Linked DNA regions of Homo sapiens: region 2 is linked to region 1. The links are contacts of gene promoters, found by promoter capture Hi-C in blood cells and fetal thymus (Javierre and others, 2016). All regions are on one chromosome and are shown on one strand. The core of a region is centred on a gene start or on the middle of the fragment in contact, and the rest is flanking DNA. Distances in the headings are between cores, read along the strand shown.

Evidence for each region. Contacts are between HindIII fragments. The CHiCAGO score rates a contact against its expected background, and 5 or more counts as called.
Region 2: a fragment that was not itself captured here is called in contact with the fragment with the promoter of SETD4 in region 1 in 1 of 17 cell types (neutrophils); the score reaches 5.7 in neutrophils.

Annotation. Positions count from the first base shown.
Region 1 is chr21:36,056,247-36,063,693 of GRCh38, forward strand. SETD4 (SET domain containing 4) reads right to left here and starts at 4,280. Exons shown (of 12, transcript NM_017438.5): 1 at 4,101-4,280; 2 at 2,570-2,678; 3 at 863-958. The coding sequence starts at 2,642. It overlaps SETD4-AS1 (SETD4 antisense RNA 1), which reads left to right and starts at 4,358. Exons shown (of 3, transcript NR_186380.1): 1 at 4,358-4,375; 2 at 7,260-7,323. RefSeq lists enhancers at 4,053-4,202, 4,233-4,282. The HindIII fragment of the contact is 7,728 bases long and covers 1-6,863 here.
Region 2 is chr21:35,038,491-35,046,287 of GRCh38, forward strand. The region is part of intron 2 of RUNX1 (RUNX family transcription factor 1); the gene reads right to left. RUNX1-IT1 (RUNX1 intronic transcript 1) reads right to left here and starts at 936. Exons shown (of 1, transcript NR_026812.1): 1 at 1-936. RefSeq lists enhancers at 6,089-6,188, 7,189-7,448 and a silencer at 7,739-7,788. The HindIII fragment of the contact is 5,143 bases long and covers 8-5,150 here.

The DNA.
Region 1 (7,447 bases), core at 3,030-5,529:
CTCAAAGTTCAATTACCTAATGGGTACTTGAATAATAATTCTAATGGCCAAGGGGAGCATTGTGTGGCATATGCTTTGACTTTTCTGTAAGATGCAGCCTGCCCTGTGATGTAGAATTTTGGGGCCCTAATTGCACCACCACTATCTCTGTGCTACAGCAGACTCCAAATCCTTTTAAAGAGCATCTTGGTCCTCCCTGTGGTTATCTCTTGCCCACCTGTGGGAAGAGTGGAGTGGCCATGTATGCAGGCACACACCCATAGCAAGCTGCCCAACTTCTGTGAGAGAATGTTCCAGAAGAAAGTGGTTTTTGTTTTTTGTTAGTTTTTTGAGACAAGGTCTCACTCTATCGCCCAAGCTGGAGTGCAGGGGCATGATCATGGCTCTCTGCAGCCTCAGCCTCCCGGGCTCAAGCAATCCTCCTGCCTAAGCCTCTAGAGTAGCTGGGACTACAGGGCACACCACCGCGCCTGGCTAACTTTTGTACTTTTAGTAGAGACAGGATGTTGTCATGTTGGCCAGGCTGGTCTCAAACTCATGAGCTCAAGTGATCTGCCTGCCTCAGCCTCCCAAAGTGCTGGGATTACAGATGTGAGCCACCACGCCTGGCAAAATGTTAACCTAACCTCCCTAATAAGCACAAGTTCCAGAGAAGAATGTCAGTCTACCTCAGTTCAGTGCTGAAGCCCACTGCTCTGCAATTAACTGGCCATACACAGGGGACTCCTCCTCCAACCCAAGGGGAACACATGCAAACCAGCTGAAGGACAATATCTGCTGAGGCCCACCTGCAAGAGTGGCCCCTGCTGTCTACCTGGCTCTCGTGTGGGAAAGGGCAGGACAGCTGAAGGCTAGATCTTACCTGGAAAACAAGCAGGCGCTAAGTTTGAATCTTGAAACTTCCTAGCTTTCAGCCACTTCCTCAGCTCTATAAATTCAGACTTGTGGCTCTCATTCACTATCAGGCAAGGAGAGAACAAATGGTGATTAAAACCACTATATAATCGGATTACCATTTTTAAAAGAACATGTCTGATGAAATGTGTCAGACAGACTTACACAATAGTAAGAATTGGTGTATCTAAACATAGAAAAGTTACAATAAAAACACAGTATTGGCCAGGCGCAATGACTCACTTCTGTATTCCCAGCATTTGGGAGGCCAAGGCGGGAGGACTGCTTGAGGCCAGGAGTTTGAGCCCAGCCTGCCCAACACAGAAAGACCCCATCTCTTAAAAAAAAAAAAAATACAATATTATAATCTGAGGACCACCACTGTACATGTGATCCATCAACCAAAACATACTTATGCAACATACGACTATATTCATTCAATGTAATCCTAATCAAAATTCAAGCAGGCTTTCATACAGGAATTAACAAGATGATCCCAAAATTCATGTGGAAATGTAAAAAGCCTAGAATAGCCCCAATATCTTTGAAAGATTGATTTTAAAACTTATTATAAAGCTACAGTAATCAAATTAGTGTGATATTGTCAAAACAGACACAAATAGGTCAAAGGAACAACACAGAAAATAGGAAGAGGTCCACACGTAAATTTTTGACAAAGTGCAAAGGCAAATCAGTGGAAGAAGATAGTCTTTTCAATAAATGATGATCAAACAACTGGACCTCCATCAGCAAAAAAAAAAGTGAGCTTATCGATATCTTGTACCATATCCAGTTGGATTTACATAGGACTTTCCAGATGGCCAAGCACTTTTGTATTGAACAAGATACAGTATCTTCTTCAGACAGGGTTACCCTGAATTTGAAGTCATAAATTTACATCCAAACATTGATATCCTACAGATAGCTGAAGGTCAAGACCAGAAAAAGAAAGTTGGGAGTCATCCCCAGAGAAGACAGTTGAAACAATGAGTTAGTTATCTTCACATTCCCACCAGGATCTAAAAGAATACAATGGCACCATTAAAAAAGAGTGTTATTTAAGAAATATTCTCTTTGGGCTGGGCACAGTGGCTCACACCTGTAATCCCAGTGCTTTGGGGAGGCCAAGGCAGGAGGACCACTCGAGCCCAGGAGTTCAAGACCAGCCTGTGCAACATAGACCCTGTCACTACAACAAATTTAAAAAAACATTAGCCGGGTGCAGTGGCATGTACCTGTAGTCCCAGGTACTTGGGAGGCTGAGGCAGGAGGGAGGCTAAGGGAGGAGATCACTTGAGCCTGGGAGATCAAGCCATGATCACGCCACTGCATTCCAATCTGGGTAACAGAATGTACCTTGTCTCCAAAAAAAAAAAAAAAAGAAAGATTCTCTTTGAACACTGTGTGCCTTTGAGAAAAGCTATGTGTTAGGCCGAGCATGCTGGCTCACGCCTGTAGTCCCAGCTACTTGGGAGGCTGAGGCAGGAGAATCGCTTGAACCGGGGAAGCAGAGGTTGCAGTGAGCCAAGATGACACCACTGCACTCCAGCCTGGGTGACAGAGCGAGAATCCGTCTCAGAAAAAAGAAAGAAAGAAAGAAAAGCTACGTATGAACAAACAAGCAATCACAAAAGGATTTCTTTTTTCATTACTGGTACTAAAAGAAAAACCATACCTCCTCTTGATTCAGAACTTCCGCAGAGTTTTCGTCTTCTGATCCGGCTTGTTCTCCCTTTTCCTTTCTGCATGCTAAAACTGTAGTTTCTTTTTTCTGAAATACAGTTCTATTTTTTCAAAAAGGACAAAACTGTAATTTCTGTGGAAATGCTCAATCTAAAATAAAAAACATTTCTTTGATTTACTTTCCAGTTATATGATAATCACTGTTCTTTGTACCTTTAAGTATACAAATGTATGTTTTGGTAAACTGTTTCTCTCAAGTGCTTTTGTACATGAAACGTTTATACTGTGAGCTAAATCATGATCCCTACAGTAACAGAATTCCCATTATATCAGTCCCTCTAAAACAGTTTTATCTTGCAGACCTAGTGACTACAGCTTAATCTACTAAAAATACAAAAAATAGCTAGGCGTGGTGGCACACGCCTGTAATCCCAGCTACTTGGGAGGCTGAGGCAGGAGAATCGCTTGAACCTGGGAGGCGGAGGTTGCAGTGAGCCGAGATCGCGCTACTGCACTCCAGCCTGGGCGACAGAGCGAGGCTCCGTCTCAAAAAAATAAAAAAATAAATACATAAATAAAAATAAAATAATGGCTGGGTACAGTGGCTCACGCCTGTAAAACCAGCACTTTGGGAGCCCGAGGCGGGCTGAGGTCAGGAGTTCAAGACCAGCCTGGCCAACATGGTGAAACCCCGTCTCTACTAAAAATACAAAAATCAGCCGGGCGTGGTGGCAGGCACCTGTAATACCAGCTACTGGGGAGGCTGAGGCAGGAGAATCGCTTGATCTCAGGAGGCGGAAGCTGCAGCTAGACGAGATCACGCCACTGCACTCCAACCTGGGCGACAGAGCGAGACTCTGTCACAAAAAATAAATTAAAAAAATAAAAATAAAAAATAAATCTACTTCTAAAACATACGAGGGCAGAAATGAGCAAGAGACAAGAACTCCAGGCAATATTAATACCGCACTTCCGCAGTATAAGGTTCATTATTTGACCTAACGAAAGTCGGCATGTCCAGCTCCAGAGGCGAACGGCGGCTGGTTCGGTGCGGGTCCCAGCGCTCAGTCCACAGACCGCGCCGGGAAGTGTCCCCAAGACTCCCGGGCCCTCGCGCGAGCTGTCCACCATCACCCTGCTGAGGACCACGTGAAGCCCGGTGACCGCCACAGACACAGGCACCGTCCCCGCCCCCATAGTCCTCAAACTCTAGCCGTGAGGCCGTCCTACGGTCCGACACACACCGCTCCCGCAGCCATAGGCCAGCCAGGCGAGCATCGGACCTCGGGCCTCAGGCTCCTCAGCTTTACGCAGCGCGCCGGAGCAACATGCGCTAAGTGTAGGACTCCACAAGATGAGAGGTTACTGCAGCGCACACGATAATGCCTGCCCTGGAGGGGACCTGCGACCTAAACTCAGTTCTTTTTACGCTGATGAATGAAAGACTAAGGAACGCACCCCGCCGACTCTGCTCCCGTTACCCGGGCAACTGGAGGCCCGACCCGGAAGTCCTACTAGCTCACCTAGGCGCCGGCGGCCGCTTCCAAGATGGAGGCTGCAGTGGGCGGGCCCAAGGCACGTGGAAATACCAAACAGCCCCAGATGAAGGCAAGTTAAAGGAACCGGCCAAAACTGCAGAGGGAGAGGCTGAAGGCTGTCGCGCCTGCCTGGTGTCCTTAAGCAATCCAAGTCCTCAGTCTCCCGGGTCCGCCCCTTCCGCCGCGGGCGGCAGCTTCCGGCTCGCGCATGCGCAGTGTTCGCGGACTCGCCGCCAACGCCCAGTACAGTCGGGGACGAGGTCGGCACACCCACAGCCCCATAACCCCTACGTCGAGTCAGGGGTCAGAAAACCCAGTAACCCGCAGGCGAGCAAGCTGCGCACTGAAAAGCCGGCCTGCGGAGTCTTTCCTTACGAAGTTAAACCACCTAGGGCGCGCGGCCCTGTTCGCCCAGACCTCGGGCTTTCCTGCCAGGCTGGGTTTGCCGGGTCGAGTCACTTTGCTCGCCAATCCCCGCCCCCATTCCACCGTTTCATTCTGGCCCCAGGACCCGCCTCACAGGAAAATTCTAAATAATATATCTAAATACCCCTTCTTCCAATAGCGGGAGCTCGATTTCTGCCCCACCCACCCCCACTTTGATTATGGGCTATGCCTAGTAACTTGATTCCAAAGAGTACAGCCTGGAATGGTGTTGGGGACTACAGTGGAGAAACCTGGCAAACAGTACCTTACCGGGTGGTCAAGGATAACATCAGGAAGAAATCATGCTGATAGCATGTTCCTGTGGTGTCTCTCTCCAAAACCCTTCTATGGAAATCTTCTATGGGGGAAAAAAAATTAGTACTCCTAAACATGTTTTCTGTCATGAAAAACAAGTACAGTTGTCCCTTAGTGTCCGTGGGGGAATGGTTCCAGGACCCTGCGGATACCAGAATTAGAATGCTCAAGTCCCTTGTATACAATGGTGTAAACCTAAGTAACAAAAGAGGCTCCCTAAAAGAAAATGAGATTTATCTGGGAGTAGCATTGCAATGGGAATATGCATGCCATAGTAAACTGTGTGCGTTTTGGGGGAGGTTGAGGCAAGGAGATGTTTTTAAAAGGAAAATGAAGATTATATGAATTGCTTTAAATCAATTATCTTTGGCTAAAAGAATGAATAACAAAGGTAGCATCAGTCCAAAGTTGCTGGACAGATGTCCTTGCAGAAGGATTTTCTGTGTTTAAGATTGGGCCTTTCTGCAAGGTTAGGGTCTTTTGTGACAATTCTTGTTATGAGGCGTAGTGCATGAGAACCCTTCCTTCAAGGCCTTCCCCAGCTGCATTTATCAGGGTTTTGACACAAGTGACTCCATTTTGATTCTGCAACTTTCACAATGGTGTAATATTTGCATATAACCTATGCACATCCTCCCATATACTTTAAATCATCTCTAGATTACTTATAACATCTAATACAATGTAAATACTATGTAAATAGTGAAGGGGTGGCCTGCCGCTCCACACCTGTGGGTGTTTCTCATCGGGTGGGATGAGAGACTGAGAAAAAAAAGAGACACAGAGGCAAAGTATAGAGAAAGAAAAGTGGGCCCAGTGGACCGGCGCTCAGCATACGGAGCACAAATCCTATTTAAACTACAGATTCTAAACACAAATGATTTTATTCACCCCTGCCCCCCAACACTAAAAGATTTAAACACTAACATAGTTTCTAACAGCTGTAAACTAAACAAATCCTAAGCCCCTACTGACTGAATGGAACCCCTTTTGGCCAAGATGGCCCCAGAAAAAAACTTAGAAACTTAGTTCCCAGCCCTGATGGAATGTGAGGTCAGACATGCCTCATTATACCCTCTCTCTTTTACAGTTTAGATACAACTGGCCAGCATTGATGTTAAAATAGAGACCATGAGACTGATGGAACAGACTTTTTGTGGCAATAAGATACAAAAATTATAAACAAGACCTAAGGCCATTCCAGGAAAGAGTTAAGTCACTTCAAGAATAAATTCTGTTCTAATGGTTACAAGTTTTTTCTTTTTCTCTAGCAGCTAAACAAGCACTCACCTCCACCTAAGCAATATTAAAACAATTACCGCTTGTGCACCACCAGATGTTAACTAACCCCCTGTTCCACAATGACAGAGCATCACCATCTTGGACAACCCCCTCATTCTAAAGTGCACCTTAATAAAAAACCGCCTAGGCCAGGTGCGGTGGCTCACGCCTGTAATCCCAGCACTTTGGGAGGCCGAGGTGGGCAGATCACGAGGTCAGGAGATCGAGACCATCCTGGCTAATTCGGTGAAACCCCATCTCTACTAAAAATACAAAAAATTACCCGGGCATGGTGGTAAGCGCCTGTAGTCCCAGCTACTTGAGAGGCTGAGGCAGGAGAATGGCATGAACCCAGGAGGAGGAGCTTGCAGTGAGCTGAGGTAGCGCTACTGCACTCCATCCTGGGCGACAGAGCAAGACTCTGGCTAAAACAAAACAAAACAAAACAAAAACCGCCTAAATCCAAAGGGCATCAGCCTAATGGCTAAGGTCACCATGACCATAAATCACAAATAATATCTTCAACCAGAAACATTCTAAATTCCCCCCTGACCAGAGACATGGTAGCCCCAAGATAAACCCCGTTCCATCTGGGAAGTGGGGAAGATGATAGCCCCGAGATAACACCCCTCAGGGCTGGAAAGATGTCCACCCCAAAATAACCTCCCCTCTTCCCAGAGAGATTCCAACCCTGCCATGAACTTCTCCACACACATAAACATTCCAAGCTTGTGGTAAGCCCCCTCACCCTAAAACCAATACATACTCTTAGTCTCTAAGAGAAAGAGTTCCTGACGGAAACAGGCCAGGAGCACCTGTCAGGTTTCATATAAGGTAAACCTGTCTCTAACTGCCAGCCGCGTTTAGTGTTCTTACGTCTTTCTTGAACTCTTATATTTGGTGCGGAAACCCAGGCCGGGTGCTGGGGGCAGAGGCTCTCTTGCAACCCAGGAAGCAGTGGGCAACCACAGCTGGTCCTGAGCTAATTTCTGGATCCTGAGGGTCTCGGGCCACCCGCTCCATCTTTTCTCTCACTTCACTTTTCCCTCATCCTCTCTTTTCCCTCTCTCTCTTTCCTTCTCTCTCTCTCTTTCTTTCTCTCTCTTCCTCATGCGGCTGCAGTCCAAGAGGCCCTTTGCCAATTCCAACTGGAACATCCAACATCGGACACTAATCCAGCCAACTGGTAAGATCTGCCCTCCCCTGGCTTTCTCGCGGTACCCGGGAAAAGTCAGGTTGGCCGTCCGGTCCTCAGAGGACCAGCAGAACTAAGCTAGAGGAAACCTTGGGGACGCCCAGTTTCTTCTCAA
Region 2 (7,797 bases), core at 1,329-3,828, 1.0 Mb before region 1:
TAGAGAAAGCTTCCTTGAATTCAGTACATCCTGGGGAGAAGTCCCAATGGATTCCCTAAGCATGGGAATTTTGAATGCTGGCCTCTCTCTCTCTCTCTCTCTCTCTCTCTCTCTCTCTCTCTCTGTGTGTGTGTGTGTGTGTGTGTGTGTGTGTGTGAGATAGAGAGAGAGAGAGAGAGAGACCTTTATTTCTCCTGAGAGGCCACTTCTGAGCTTTGAATCAGGAGTGATGTGAGCATATATATCCCTAATGGGAATTATAGTTTGGGTTCCAATTTTTATACAAAGATCTCCCACTTCCCAGGGCTCCTTCCAGAGCTGAAGCCTGGCAGCCTTGGCCGAGGCCATCTCTGAACCCTCTGCATGGATGTGCACATTGGCTGTTGTGGTGGTTCAAATTTTGCCCTAGACCCTCATCAAAACCAACCTGGTTAATTGTAACATTGCCTAAGGAGCCAGGTGGGCAGGCACATGGTGGGTGCTTAACCAAGGTGGTGCTGGATTTTGGGGAAGAGAGAACATCCAAATGACAGCAGGGGCCGGTTACTCCTATGGCAACTGCATTTCTAACACAGCCTAAGGACGTTCTTAAGGACTCAGGGATTCATATACATTGCCCTGCCTAATGAGTTCACAAGGTGAAGGGATTTAACCTGCAAAGGATTGTGGTATCTGAGCAATGCAAAGGGGAATTGAGGAGGATTAGGAGAAGTGTCTGCTAGTTATGTGCATGCTTGAATGGAATCCACCTCATAAATTCAGTGTCTGCAAAACTGTGGGTGACAGGAGCTGAGAAGACCTGGTTTCTCGTTCGGACTCTGGCACCAACCAGCTATGGAACCCTGGGCAAGTGAACCTCTCTGGTGCCCTAAGGTAGAGAAATGTCTAAAAATCACTCCAGCCAAATATTCGGCTCTTCCTTTCTAGCAGTTTAAAAATATTTATAATTATAGATTTTAAAAAATAAAGTTATATAATTTTTAGATGCCAACTGAAACTATACAGAACTATATATATACATAACTCTATATAACTCTATGACACAGCACATAAAACTTACAAAGCATCATATAGAACAATGTCTCATAGTTCATATGTCTCAGGGTTCACTTATTTTTTAAACAGATTTATTCACATCTGTAATACAATTATTTCTTTGTTTTGAATACAACCTGGAGGGAAGCATATGGGAGACACAGCCTTTATTTAAAAAAATGAAGTAATGATATGGAATGATTGACAGTTGGATAGAATTTTCATTGTCGGCACTTCTACTTCTTTATATGACCCTGCACCTTTCACAGTGCTAATATTTGTTTAAGGTTGCTTAACGTTGTTCCTCTCCTCTAGAACTTTGGAAGTAAAAGCCATTCTCATCTTTAGAAACAGTAGATTCAATAATAATAAATAATAATAAACTAGAAGCCTGAGTTTCTGTTCCTACCTGTCAGTCAATGCCTAAATAATTTCATTTTCACCCATTCACCCATTCATTACATGAAAGGGGCTGGGATAAGAGAGAACACTCCTGAAGGGGAGGACTACTTTTTCTCCTCCTTTTAGTTCCTACCCACTCTTGCATGGGTTTTATACACATATGTGGTTTCAGATTTTATGAATTCTATACTTTCAAAGTGGGTGAATGTCAAGTTCAGCTGTGACTGTTACCGAGCTGGATGAAGCTGCCCAGATGCAGCCTGCAGATGGTGTGGAATGAGGGGCTCAGTGCACAGAGTTCAAAGTGCAAACAGAAGCTGTGTAAGAAAGTGCAGCAAACTGTGGTTGGTGTTAAAACTGCTCCTGAAAAAAATGGCACTCAAACCAATGTATCTTAGTTGACCTAAACTCTCTTTTGCACATTCTGGGGCAGTAATAAGAAACAAACATTGATAGCTATACATATTATAAAATTTTGCACAGTAAAAGGGGAAGTGCTTCTCTCTTGAGCAATGAGTGCCACTCTGACATTTTTTGTCTCCCTTAAAAAACTCACCTAGGATGGGCCGGGTGCAGTGGCTCATACCTGTAATCCCAGCATTTTGGGAGGCTGAGGCGGGCAGATCACGAGGTCGGGAGATCGAAACCATCCTGGCCAACATGGTGAAAACCTGTCTCTACTAAAAATACAAAAATTAGCCGGGCGTGGTGGCACACACCTGTAATCCCAGCTACTCAGGAGGCTGAGGCAGGAGAATGGCTGAACGTGGGAGGCGGAGATTGCAGTGAGCTGAGATGGGGCCACTGCACTCCAGCCTGGTGACAGAGCTAGTAGACTCCATCCAAAAAAAAAAAAAAAAAAAAAAACCAACAACAAAAACTCACCCACAATGGAATGTGACTATGGAATACCCTGCGGTGTGTTCAGAGCTCTGACTTCTGTTTGCTCTTTTTAACATAACCCCCATCTGGCAAGCTGACTGCTGCAAGATTTTCTGGGTCTTTCTTTAGGATCTACTAACAATGAAAAACATATATATGAAAACCTACACATTTTCAGAAGCACATGAGAGCTGATCAAGACCCACGTACCTCCCAAGGAGAGGAGATGACAGAGGCTGCTCTGTGGTGTTGCTCTCAGGCTATATTTGATTTATTGCTCAAATCTTATTATTTCATTCTCCATTCGAGACTAGCAAAGTTTCTTTTGAGAAGTCACAGTCTCTACGGAGGGTATTCTAACGCCCAGAAGTAAAAGTTGGATGTTGGCAAAGAAAGCAAAGTAGAATCTTTGCAAAATGTTGGAGCTGCATAGTTCTCTCTCCCAATGGACATGTTTCAAGACTGAATACGTTGAGTATTTGATTTAGAATCAATTTAACATGAACTTCGCATTTATGCAAAGCAGCATCAGTCCTGAGATCAGCAGAGCGATTGAGCAAGCCCAACTAGCAAACTGAGATTTCTATTTGTGATGACCTTTCCCATTTGAGGCCCCAAAAATGTCTTGGGGAACTCATTGTTTAAAAAGAAGTCCATCAAAAAATGGACACATATGGACCATGGCATGGGAGGGCAGTGCTGCATACAAAATCAACAATTCTCTAAATGAACACCGATCTTGCAGAAAAACAAAATGAAAGCAAAACAAAAAGAAATTTCTAATTTCAAGAGAAAAACTGAATAACAACTTTCTTTTCATTCATCCTTTCTTTCTTCTTTTTCTTTCTTTCTTTTTTTTTTTTTTTTTAACGAAGCAATGACTTTCTCAGGGAGAAAGATTTGCATCCATGCTGAGGAAATAGACAGGGCCAGTAATCACACAGCAACAATCATCTGTAACTTGCAGAAATTCAATGTATGAATAAGTGTTTAAAGCCTAGATAGAGGGCAATTATCTGGTTATCTGTTTTTCATATTTCTATCAGAGATAAAAACCTCTTTAGGGAAATTTATGAAGGGCCATTTGAAAGAAGGTTTCCCTCTTTTGTAGAAAAGAATTCTCTTAAAAATTAAAACAAATTTGGGAGGCTGGGGGATTTTTGAGAGTTTAAAAGAGTGAGGAAGATGGGGGGCGGGAAGCAACTATTTCCAGCTGCGAGAAACCGATCAACCTCACAGCAAGGTGTGGTGGCTCTGATGCAAGCAACATTCCCATAGATACAGGGCTGTCTGGTTTTCTATTGCTCATTCTAACTTGAGGAGACGCTCAAGTGTGATTTGGGGCTTTGACACTGAAAATAGGTGTGAACTTGGATCCATTTAACCTAGCCCCTTCCCCCACCTCATCCCTTCTCCTGTCCAGTTTGCTTTCAATGGGTCAACAATAAATATTCACCCTTGGCATCCATCTGCAACTTCCAAGAGGGAATGAAGGAAGAACATAAAGTTTCTCTGCATTTGTTTCCAAAGCCCAGCTGGCACAGAAAACAAATGATACAAGATATGACTGGGAAGGCACACAGCCTGTCTTTGTCACCAGGTCTGGCAGATGTGGCTCTGGGTTCACGAGACATCTGCTCCCAGCTACCTTCCTCTCTGCTTCCCTCCACTCTCCAGGCTGGAAAGTGACAACTCCATTGTCCTCAGTTCCCTCCAGCCAGAGGCCTGTGACCTAGTTGTGGCCTAAGCAATATGTCAGCGAAAGTTTGCAGAGAAGGGCTTCCCTTCCTGAATAAAAATACCAGGACCCACAAGAAGGGGTTGAGGCCTCCCATGTCCTTTCTGCCTGGACAGATCAGAGGTGCAGGCCATCTCTCCCTGGCCTCAGCATGGTGGGACCAAAACATAGGAGTGTCCTGCACCCCACCGTATCAGCCTGGACTGCTCACTCTGGAACTCCTGCCCGTCTGCTCAAGCCACTGTGGTCAGCTTTTCTCTACGTGCAGCCAAACATAATTTTCATGGGTAAACCTGAGCAAGGGCCTTACTCTTTCTGTCACTGCAATAAAATACATAATTTCCGTCATGTTTCGGATTTAGTGTTTATTCCTCCACCTTGGCTCCTTTCTGGCATCATTACTCAGTGTTATTGCAAGATGAGGGAGGGAGAGAAAGAGAGAGATTCAGAGAGCCAAGAGAGTATAACACGTGTCTCCCCAACAAAGAGTGAAGCCTGCGCAAGTGAGAGCAGTGTGTCTGAGCTTATCCTCCCAGCATGTTGAAGGTGACAGGAGGTTTTGAGCCCTGTTTTGTGTTCAAGAGCCAGCCTGTGTTCTCGTAAAGTACTCCCTGATTGTGTTCACGGTCAGCAAAGATCTCAAAGGAAATGCTCCCTTTTTACCACTCCAGGACATCCTAGTTATTATATTTTATGAGAGGGAAGAGGTCAAGAAAGACATACCTCTTTGCCTTGGCTGGAGGCTCAGCAAAAAGGCTAAAGAAGGGGACTGGTGGCATCTGATGGGGAGGAGCAGGGGAGGCCGAGAAACAAGAGTTGTGGGAAAAGTGCTTTGAACATTTTAATATCTGTTCAGGCACCAGTGTAGCTTCTGAAGATTTCTTGAAAAATGGGAGTTGGAGAAAGCAATTACGAAAATGAGGGAAAATATCTTGCATTTGTGAAATGATGGGAGAACTATTTTCTAAACAGAAAATAAAATATTTTTAAGTGGCTTTGTGTTATTAAGCTAAGAAGATTTGTGATGTGTTTTATGGTACCTCTTTCTGATGCATGTAAAGACTTCCAACAGGAACTTGGTAATTTAGATGCAAGCTTGTCTAGAATATTATTAGCCCATTTTGCAGAACTCAAATGAGACACAAAGACATCTATTGACTCATCTAGGTCACTAGGAAGTTACCTGAGAAACTGAAAATTTGCTTGAGTTTCCTGTGTGGGCCTCCTCTGCTGCCTCCAACAAGACAAGCCATCAAAGCTACCTTCATGTCTGGGCTTTGACAAAGTACATGATTACAAATGTTCCCAAGGAGCAGGGAAAATGGGAGTCTCTCAGAGGCCCAGAGAACCTGCTCAAAGGTATACAGGCAAAATGGCCTTTTCCTTAAGAAGAGCCTTGGAGAAAATAAAGCTACACCAGCAGTCTCAATGAAAAGAGACATCTCTGTTGTCCTTGTGTGTTCAGATCAAAGACTTAGCATGACATCCTGCCCCAACTAGCCTCCATATTTAAAATCAAAACTTGTTAAGTTGAATTTCATAAAGGGCTCTCGTTCTTTTTCCACAAGGGAAGGAAGGCTGACCTGCTGGTGAAAAGCCCTTAGGGTGGACTGAGTTACCCACTGCTGTCCATGCCCATGTGGGATCCTGCAGCTCTAACTTTGCCCAGGCTGTACTCTCGGCCTAGACCACTCTTCCTTCTTTCCTTTGTTCCCAACTTCCCCTCCCCCAACTCCTGTGTCCCTCTCTCCAGGGAGCCTCCTGTAATGTCCTCCAGGGCATTGTGACCTCTCCCTCCCTAGAGCAGACAGCGGTTGACTGGCTGCCTTCTTAGATAACTGAACATTGATAGCCACCATTCAGATTTATTGCTTACTTTATATGGCTGGGCAAAGCACCTTACACAGATTAATTCGGTCCACACAGCTACCTTAATAACAGGTACTATTGCAATCCTTACTCTGCAGATGAGGAAACTAAGGCTCAAGAGAGAAGTTCTATATGCTATTTGATGAAAGCCAGAAAAAAGAAAAGAAAGAAAAGGCCATCACTGTGTCATCTGAGCACATTCCCTGCACAGACCTCCTGCCATTGCTTTCTCTAATAGCAGGTGCTCTTATGCCTCCAGACTCTTCTCTCTAGGCCTTGGGCTCCTTATTAAAGTCTGTGTGTGCACAGCGGCTGTGCAGCCGTCCTCTGTCCCAGCATCTCACCAGGCTTGATTTCTCAGTAAAGGGCTACATATTTTCTGAGCACATCTTTCGGATCTATTTTGAGAGAATGTAGGAACGTCTCAGCTACTCATTTGCTTTCAAAAGCTCAGAAAGGCTTCTTGCCATTCAGAATCGGGTCAGTTGCTGTTTCCAAAGGTGCTTCTGCTACTGGTTGCTCCATGCCCCTGTACTCGGTGTGTGAGCAGCTGTGGGGCCTCCTACAGCCCCCTAAACCCCACTAATAAAGTCAGTCTGAAGTACAAAGACAATCCTCCCCAAGAAAGCAGAGCCAAGAGGAGGTTTCTTTGGGGCGGCTGCCATTTGCTCTTTTAACACTTAAACATTTCAAAATTACTCGTCATTTTCTACAGTTTCTTAGCGTGCAAAAAGTCTAAATGGCAAAGGCATGATTGTGAGTTTAGATAGTTTTATCACACCTTTTTTTTTTATAGTTTCAAAATGTGTGGGCAGTTTCAGATGTGAAACTCCATCTCACAAAGGAGGAACTACAGTCTGATTCTTTAACATCCAAGAGAGCAGCCAGGATGCCCCATCCCACAGTTTCCTTGTGGGCCAGGGTGGGTCAGATTTGCTAAGACCCACTGTTAGGGACTGCAGTATGTCTCCCTAGAATTAATACATTGAAGTCCTAACCCCAAGGTGCTCATAATTTGACACTATTTGGACATAGGGTTTTAAAATGACGTCATTAGGCTAGCCCCAATACAATGCAATTGGTATCCTTATAAGAAGAGATTAGGATACAGACACACACAGAGGGATAACCATGTGATGAAACAGGGAGAAGGGAGCTGTCTGCAAAACCAAGGAGAGAGGCCTCACCAGAAATCAGCCTTGCCGACACCTTGATCTCACACCTCCAGTCTCCCTCCAGAACTGTGTGAAAATAAATTTCTGTGGCTTAAGCCTGAAGTCTTAAGATCTTAAGTGTTCAGTCAAGCCAGAAGAAGTGTCTTAATAAATATTCTTCTGAAAAGAGCGGCAAGCCGATGCTTAGAGAAGAACATACTTTATACATGCAGCTTTGTACTTGGCAATTCCCTTTGAAAGACTGCTTCAGTGGGGTAAACTTGAACCGCTGAGAAGACAAGCAGGGAGTCGGTCTCGCTGAGATTTTTACCTGTGGTTCTAGGAACGCAGAGGCATGTGAGTGTTCAGGCTTTGCATAGACCACTAAGCCACTTCTAAGAACAAGGCTACCTGAGCCATTTTGCAAAAATATGTACGTGCCGAGGCTTTTCCTCCCCACACCTACCTCAACTCTTTCTGCCGACACACTGCACTTTTCAAGGGAACCCAAGTTTGGGTTCGGCAAGAATTGTACGTTGCACACCGTGTGTGATAATTCCAGGGAATTTCAATCGCATCTTGTCTTCCTTCCTAAGCAAATTCGGTGGGAACCTGGTGTGGTGTGATAGAAAAAGCCCCGAGTTCTCTGTGGTAGACCACATCAATTTCATGTGCCAGTCTCTCAGACTCCGGCTTGCCTCTCTCAAGGAAGGGAAC